Regions from separate parts of the Homo sapiens genome. Here all the other regions are linked to region 1. The links are contacts of gene promoters, found by promoter capture Hi-C in blood cells and fetal thymus (Javierre and others, 2016). All regions are on one chromosome and are shown on one strand. The core of a region is centred on a gene start or on the middle of the fragment in contact, and the rest is flanking DNA. Distances in the headings are between cores, read along the strand shown.

Region 1 (2,700 bases), core at 1-2,500:
TACTGGAAATTGAGTGGCTAATGTGGAGAAAACGCAGGCAGAAAAACAGGGGAGACAAAACGAAAGGCTCTCTTGGTTTGAGCCTGTCCAAGCAGCCACGACTCCTTATCAGGTGAACACAGTTCGTCAGTTGGCCACCTAAAGTACAAGTGGGAGAAATTCATCATCACAACATAAATTTTGAGCTTGATATTCTCATATCCGGGAGTCAAACAAACCCAACCACCTGTGCACAATGCTTCCACCTGCAGGAAGGTCATCGCAAACGCTCCAATCTCGTAACAACATTCACACGTTTCCAGCATGTACCTCCGCTTCACACCTCTCTCCCCCCACGTAGTGACCCACCAGGTCTACGTCCTGAAAATACTTCCAGTGGTCATGACTCTTTACAACAACATATCAAATTATTTTCTCTAATTACCTATGAAAAAAGAATGAAACCAACTCCGCGGAGAGCGTGGCACGGCTCTGCGCTCCCCTCCCTGCCTACCCAGCGCCTTCCACGCGGGACACTCCCCGCCGCGCTCCGCTCCAGACCCGCGCGGCCTCGCCGGCTCAGCAGCACTCGCAGCCGGCGATCCGCTGGTGCAGCTCCACGATCCGCCTGCCCATCCGCGCCGCCTCCGCAGCCTTCCTCTCTGCTTCGGCGCACAGCCGAGCCACCCGCTCCTCAGCCTCCGCACGCGGGCGGGGTGCTGGGGCCCGGGCGCCCCGCTCCTCTGCCTCCACCTCACTCTTGATGGCGTCGAGCAGGCTCTGGATCTCCAGCAGCTTCCTGCGGGCCCGCCAGTGCGCCCGGGCGCGCTCGCGCTCCAGGGAGGCCAGGTTCTCGCGGCCGGCGCGGGGCGCGGGGCTCAGCGGGCTGCCCGGCTCCTCGCGGGGCTCCCGCGCCTCGTCCGCGTCCACGGGCCGCATCACGCCGCCGCCTCTTCCAGCCCGCGGGGCACGCCGGGGCTGCTCACCAGCAGCGAGCGCGGAAGCCTCGCTGTCACCAACGACCAGACTAGCAACAGGTTGCCCCAACTTTCCGCAGCGAGGACGGTATCCAAAATGGGCTACTAGCCGTCGGCCAGGACGCTGCCACTGCGGCCCTTTTACGACACCTGCGGTCCTTTACCGCCACGCAGCAAGCGAGAACCGCATTCGGGGCTCCCGCCTCAGCGGTCCTGCGCGCGCACGCGCACTTGCACGCACGCGTACCCCCCCGCACGCATGCGCACCCCATGTCCCCGCCCGCTGTAGCGCCACAGCTCTTTGGGCGTTGATTCTAGGGTCAGGGCCCTCACTCACACTGCTGGAAGGTTAAAGTCGACTTCACGCTAGTTTAAGGAAATATCTGACGCTGATAACCATGTCCCAAGCACTGCTCTAAGTTCCCAATGTGTCCGGAATTGGTGGGTTCTTGGTCTCACTGACTTCAAGAATGAAGCCACGGACCCTCGCGGTGAGTGTTACAGCTCTTAAAGTGGCGCGTCTGGAGTTTGTTCCTTCTGATGTTCGGATGTGTTCGGAGTTTTTTCCTTCTGGTGGGTTCGTGGTCTCGCCGGCTCAGGAGTGAAACTGCAGACCTGTTACGGCTCATAAAGGCAGTGTGGACCCAAAGAGTGAGCAGCAGCAGGATTTATTGCAAAGAGAGAAAGAACAAAGCTTCCACAATAGAAGGGGACCTGAGCCGGTTGCCACTGCTGGCTCCGGCAGCCTGCTTTTATTGTCTTATCTGGCCCCACCCACATCCTGCTGATTGGTAGAGCCGAGTGGTCTGTTTTGACAGGGTGCTGATTGGTGCGTTTACAATCCCTGAGCTAGACACAAAGGTTCTCCAAGGCCCCAGCAGAGTCGATTGGTATATTCACAAACCCTGAGCTAGACACACGGTGCTGATTGGTGTATTTACAATCCCTGAGCTAGACATAAAGGTTCTCCACATCCCCACCAGACTCAGGAGCCCAGCTGGCTTCACCAAGTGGATCCCACACCAGGGCTGCAGGTGGAGCTGCCTGCGAGAACGGCACCGTGCGCCCACACTCCTCAGCCCTTGGGTGGTGATGGGACTGGGCGCCGTGGAGCAGGGGGTGGTGCTCGTCGAGGAGGCTCGGGCAGCACAGGAGCCCATGGAGGGGGTGGGAGGCTCAGGCATGGCGGGCTGCAGGTCCCGAGCCCTGCCCCTCGGAAAGGCAGCTAAGGCCCGGTGAGAAATCGAGCACAGCGCCGGTGGGCTGGCACTGCTGAGGGACCCAGTACACCCTCCGCAGCCGCTGGCCCGGGTGCTAAGCCCCTCATTGCCGGGGGCTGGCAGGGCCAGCCGGCTGCTCCGAGTGCGGGGCCCACCAAGCCCACGCCCACCCTGAACTCCAGCTGGCCCGCAAGCGCCGTGTGCAGCCCCGGTGCCCGCTCGCGCCTCTCCCTCCACACCTCCCTGCAAGCTGAGAGAGCCGGCTCTGGCCTTGGCCAGCCCAGAAAGGGGCCTCCACAGTGCAGCAGTGGGCTGAAGGGCTCCTCAAGTGCTGCCAAAGTGGGAGCCCAGGCAGAGGAGGCACCGAGAGTGAGCGAGGGCTGTGAGGACTGCCAGCACACTGTCACCTCTCACCAACATTCTAAATCATAAACACCCAGGCCGGGCGTGTGGCTCACGCCTATAATCCCAGCACTTTGGGAGGCTGAGGTGAGAGGATCGCTTGAGCTCAGGAGTTCCATACC
Region 2 (2,733 bases), core at 140-2,639, 3.7 Mb after region 1:
CACAGGCTCGGTGCCGCAGAGCCTGCTGGGAGCCCAGTAATGTTCAGGCCATCTCTGTCCTGTCGCACTTGGAATTCAGGTTCCACTCTGGTGCACCCTTTCAGAGCGCTTGGGAAGAACTCGGAACTGCTCGTGGTGTCTGCTAGAGAGGATGTGGCCACGTGGCAGCAGAGCAGCCTCTCCCTCCGCTGGGCGAGTAGACTGAGGGCCCCAACTTCGACAGAGGCCAATCACATCCGGTATGTGAGGGGACCCCGCTTTGGGGCCTGTGCCCTACAGCGTCCCCAGAGGCAGGAGAAGCCACTCGTGCTTTCTGATGTGCTGTTCTTAGTGAACTTGCCGCCCGGCCGTTTGGTTTGATGGAGGCCGAAAGCCTTTCTGAGGCATGTTGGCTTGCTGTCCCTTTTTCTTTTCATTTTCAAAATACATTTGCTTGATTTCACAAATCATAATTTGGAACCAAAAATGGAGCCGCCCCATCCCAGCTGGCGCTGCGGTTCCCACAGCCTCCCCTCCTGCGTTAGGCCTGACCCTGAGCCTGCCTTGCCCGTGGTTGCATGGGCCCAACCCTGGCCGGCCAAGGTGGCCACACTGGAGTTTTCAGCCTAGTGGAAGTGGGGAAGTTCATTTTTGCCACGTTATTGGTTTTGTCAGTGACAAACAGAACAAGTTGGACCTCCTCTTGCCTCCTGCCCTCACAGACTGTCCTGCCTGGCTGTGGGCCTGGCCCTGCTGAAGCGCTGCGTGCTCATGTACGGGTCCCTGCCATCCTTCCACGCCATCATGGGGCCTCTCCAAGCCCTCCTCACGGATCACCTGGCGGACTGCAGCCACCCGCAGGAGCTCCAGGTGAGGCTTCCCGGCCACTAGGGTGCTCTGCCTGGGCTCAGACATGTCCCTGAGCTGGGGCCAAGCTGGTGGCAGTCAGTCATTTGATGCTGCAGCTGTAAGTCAACACCATCTTTGCAAAATCACAAATATGAAGGGAAGTAAAATCATAAGAGTGGGCAGTGACGGTGAGCAGTGCTGGGCTGGAGTAAAGCAGATGCTGCATCTCAGGCGGCAGCTGGGAACTGTCGCCTTGTGTGCTTCCTCCAAGAGGCCGCACGGAGGGTGCACCAGCGCCCAGGGGTCAGCCCCTGCCAGGCCTGGACAGTCAGCTCTGAGCCGCGCTCTGCAGTCCCGATGGGTTTTCCAAGGATGGTCTCACTATCCTGCACAAGGTGACAGGAAGCCCCAAGGGACAGTCTCAGCTGGACCCAAGAACAAGTCTTTGATGGCACATCCTGTCCTCTACAGGCTGCTCCAAATTCACCTATGGCCTACCCGCCTCCCTGCCTTTCACCCTGACCCTGACAGGCTGTACCCTGCATCCACTTCCTGCTTGACATGGCTGTGGCTTGTGCCTTTCATCCTGCCCCAACCCTGCCCCTTATTGGCCCGCACCAGCCCAGGATGCTGCTGGAGCCGAAGGCATCAGTGCCATCTCCGCAGCTACCCCCACAGGACCGTCCCGCACCACCAGCACAGCCCTGGCAGCCTTGCCTCGTGCCTTCCCCTCATGCGCTCCGGCCTCCTCGCAGGCCTGGCTTCGTCTCTGGAGTAGTTCTCTGCACCTAGAACTCCCCACAGCCATGCTGCTCGCGCCCACACCCTTGGGAAGCCAGGCCTTCCCTGGCCCACACTGTGCCGTGCTCCCTGCGTTTTGTCTGTGGTGCTGACCCCCGGGCACGTTACACCGTCCTTGTCTCTGCCCCACTAGGATGAGAGTTCCATGAGGACAGCAACTCGGCTCGTTCCGGCCAGGTCCCTGGAGCATAGAGCAGATAAGCTAGCTATCACAGACTCCGTCGCCTGGTCAAAGGCTGATGAGGATGAGATGTGAGCCCTGCCCCTTATCCTGTATCCACTTCCTGCTGGTGTGGCTGTGGCTTGTGCCTTTTATTTAAAAGAATTTGGGTTGGCCTGGCCGAGGGGCACAGCAGGTCTCATGGTCTCGGTAGACTGGGCCAGTCAGGCCCTTGAGTTTGGTCTCCATGGAGACGAGGCATTCCGGCACTCGAAGGTTACATCCACATGGGCCCAGGAGTGGCTGTATCTGTGGGTGCAGCCAGGGTTCCAGGACACACCTGTGCAGGAGAAAGCGGGTAGGACCAACCTCAGTGAACTACCTTTCGGGAGATTCCTCAGAAGCCACCAGCCAACTCTTCTGGAAGCCAAGGTCTTGGTGAAAATGGGTCTTAACCATCTGGTTCTGTTGGCTTGAAAATAAGGTCAAACTGCCAAGACTGGTGGAAACCCTGCCCCGCCTAGCACCCAGCGTCAGTTTGCACACTGGGCTCTAGCATGCACACGGCCCCCCGCGGCAGAAAGGGGTTCTCCTGTGAGCCTTCTCACGAAGCAAGTGGCTCACGGCCTTTCGTGCCAAGTTTGTCTGGGAAAGAGGGGTTCTGTTGACGTTTCTGGCTGTGAGGAGCACAGGCTATGGTGACCTCCAACTCCCCAAGTCCCCTCCTTTCAGAGAGTGCTCTCAGGGGCCAGCCCACGGCCCTCCCTCTTCAAGAAGACAGTGGCTTTACTTCGTTCCGGCTGTGCCAGGACTTGAGCAGCCACAGCCTTGGCTTACCCCCCCGCCCACCGGTAGGCGCACAGCAAGGGCACCATCCTGCTGCAGGGAGCTCGCAGCACTGTCCTCACGCTGCCTTGACACCACAGAACCCGTGCGTGGAGCTC
Region 3 (2,700 bases), core at 49-2,548, 5.0 Mb after region 1:
AACTCAAACCCAGTTGCAAGGACTGGGTTTATTCAAACCCAGTTAAAATGTGGCTCATAATTGGTTGAAGTATTTTACAAGATAATTTTAGCCAACAAGTGGCTGATAAACAGGGTCTCAAGAAAAATGTGTCTTGCGTGTCAGCCGCGGAACGATACCTAGACTACCTGTTTTCATTTTGGCAGCCAGTGATGGTATTTATATCAGCCTCCTTTGAAAAGGGACGGGAATATGTGGGAATTGGTTATTGAACATTTGGGGGAGTTATTTGTCATTTCTTCTGGTATCAAAATGTGTGGGTGGATGTATGCCTTGGTAGAAGAAATGAACTAGGAGTTCACAGATGAGAGTACCAGTGTTTTTAGTGAATTATTGCATTTATATAGGTCTTGACTTCCTCAATTATAAAATTAGAATGTTTGACTTGACTTGTATAGTTTGTGTTGCATGCACAAGTCTTAGAACAGTTCTTGCATACCGATAGCCTAGTTGCTCCCTCAAGTCACCCCTTGCCAGGGGTTATCTGCAGCTCTTATTCATGCGTATTCCACCTGTCCAGATTGTCCTGTGAGTGGACCCTATTTGTTCTTCAGATATCTCATGGGTCTGTGCCTGAAAATTGTCCTGTTTTGGAAAACAGCACTGTTTGGGCTGCTCTGTTGATTATACCCTTTGTGATGGAAAGCTACGGCTTTTATTTACTTACTTATTTTTTTGAGATGGAGTCTTGCTCTGTTTCCCAGGCTGGAGTGTAATGATGCAATCTCAGCTCACTGCAACTTCCGCTTCCTAGGTTCAAGCGATTCTCCTGCCTCAGCCTCTCGAGTAGCTGGGATTATAGCTGTGTGCCACCACGTCCGGCTAATTTTTGTATTTTTAGTAGAGGCTAGGTTTCACCATATTGGCCAGGCTGGTCTTGAACTCCTGACCTCAGGTGATTTGCCCGCCTCGGCCTCCCAAAGTGTTGGGATTATAGGCGTGATCCACCTTGCCTGGCCAAAGCTGCAGCTTTTAGTGCAACCTGTGTAATTTAAACTGCTGGCCCTTTAGTGAGCCATTACTGACAGGCCGGCTTACTTCCTGACAGTAAGAGCGGTATGAAATGTCAGCTTACTATGCTTTAAGGAGACTAACAGACTACAAACTAGCAATATAAGAGTATGAAAATGGATTTTCTGCATGGCATGGTGGCTCACACCTGTAATCGCAGTACTTTGGGAGGCCAAGGCGGGCGGATCACCTGAGATCAGGAGTTCGAGACCAGCCTGACGAACATGGAGAAACCCCGTCTCTACTAAAAATACTAAAAATTAGCCAGGCGTGGTGGCAGCAACCTGTAATCTCAGCTACTCAGGAGGCTGAGGCAGGAGAATCGCTTGGACCCGGGAGGCGGAGGTTGCACTGAGCCGAGATCTCGCCATTGCACTCCAGTCTGGGCAACAAGAGGGAACTCCGTCTCAAAAAAAAAAAAAAAAAGAAAAAAAAGAAAATGGATTTTCATCATACCTGAAAACCAGTCTTTCTCATCTGTGGTACTGGAGAGAATGAGGCCCTGCAGCAAATGATTTGCAGGACTAATCTCTGAATCGTACAAAGATGGTGTTATATAGCCAGTGCTACTCTAGATGCACGGGAGATAAATTACTTCATTACCTTCTGGCGTCCAAACTGCACTGAACACCTCAGCAAACTTGGGTGGATTTTAGATTTTGAGAGGAGGCACAGTAATACATGACATAATTTAGATACCTGCATGACAGGCCAGGGGTGGTGGCTCACTCCTGATCTCAGTACTTTTGAGAGGCTGAGGCGGGAGGATTGCTTGAGCTCAGGAGTTCAAGAGCAGCCTGGGCAACACAGACCTCCATGTCTCCAAAAAAAGAAAAAAATTTTTTTGGAGATGGTTGTGGCGGCACTTGCCTGGAGTCCTAGCTGCTTGGGAGGCTGAGGTGAGATGATTGCTTCAGCCCAGGAATATGAGGCTGTGGTAAGCCATGATCGTGCTACTGTACTCTAGCCTGGGTGACAGAGTGAGACCCCATCTCAAAAAAAAAAAGATACTCACATGAACTTGGAGCTCAAGGTAGCTCGTGGTTTCAACGTCAGATTGCGCTAGACTCCTTTTGGAGATGTCATACTTTTTTTTTTGCAAAACTGCGTTCTGGTAATGACTGCAATAGAAAGCAGATGCCTCAGGAAGTTCATGAGGAACAAGAGAAAAGGGGGCACGTTTGGTCTCCAGGATTGGAGAAGGTATGCAGTGCCCAGTAGGCATATGAGTCCCATTAGTAAGTTTGGTGTTTTTAAAATAATTTATTTCAATTTATGTTTTGTTTTTCTTTTTTTAAGGCTGCCAAGTTTTAGGGAATGTAAATTTTTGTTGTGTGGATCTCACTACTTAAACTGAACCTGACAAAGATTTCTTTTGGCCCACGGAGCTTCTGGATTGCATAGGATGGTGTGCCTGCGGGCATCAGGGTGGAGCTTCCTCAGACCTGGCTGCTTTATTTTTATATCTTTTTTAAAAACAGCAATATTTATTTTGCCCTCAGATATAAAAGGAAACTCCTCATCAATGACTTTGGAAGAGAGAGAAAATCATCATCAGGAAGGTAAAGGCTGTGTAAATGTTTCTTTTCTAATTTGATAGACCTGTAATTTGTTAAAAAAAAAAAATTGTGACTGTCAGAAATGCTGACT

What was found. The method cuts DNA at HindIII sites, captures the fragments that hold promoters and counts their contacts. A CHiCAGO score of 5 or more calls a contact.
Region 2: a contact is called between a fragment that was not itself captured here and the fragment with the promoter of LINC02482 in region 1, in 1 of 17 cell types (neutrophils). The highest score is 9.3, in neutrophils.
Region 3: a fragment that was not itself captured here is called in contact with the fragment with the promoter of LINC02482 in region 1 in 1 of 17 cell types (neutrophils); the score reaches 5.4 in neutrophils.

What each region holds. Positions count from the first base shown.
Region 1 is chr4:6,672,431-6,675,130 of GRCh38, reverse strand. LINC02482 (long intergenic non-protein coding RNA 2482) reads left to right here and starts at 1,250. Exons shown (of 2, transcript NR_134665.1): 1 at 1,250-1,447. MRFAP1L2 (Morf4 family associated protein 1 like 2) reads right to left here and starts at 1,056. Exons shown (of 1, transcript NM_138699.3): 1 at 1-1,056. The coding sequence starts at 918. The coding sequence ends at 559. RefSeq lists a silencer at 752-981 and an enhancer at 1,454-2,062. The HindIII fragment of the contact is 2,330 bases long and covers 1-1,652 here.
Region 2 is chr4:2,939,698-2,942,430 of GRCh38, reverse strand. It overlaps NOP14 (NOP14 nucleolar protein), which reads left to right. Exons shown (of 18, transcript NM_001291978.2): 14 at 80-239; 15 at 702-849. The region is part of intron 2 of NOP14-AS1 (NOP14 antisense RNA 1); the gene reads right to left. Among named protein-coding and RNA genes, the nearest start is that of NOP14-AS1, 5.5 kb to the right of the region's middle. The HindIII fragment of the contact is 2,982 bases long and covers 1-2,733 here.
Region 3 is chr4:1,699,923-1,702,622 of GRCh38, reverse strand. SLBP (stem-loop histone mRNA binding protein) reads left to right here. Exons shown (of 8, transcript NM_006527.4): 4 at 2,553-2,612. Among named protein-coding and RNA genes, the nearest start is that of SLBP, 11 kb to the left of the region's middle. The HindIII fragment of the contact is 4,067 bases long and covers 1-2,700 here.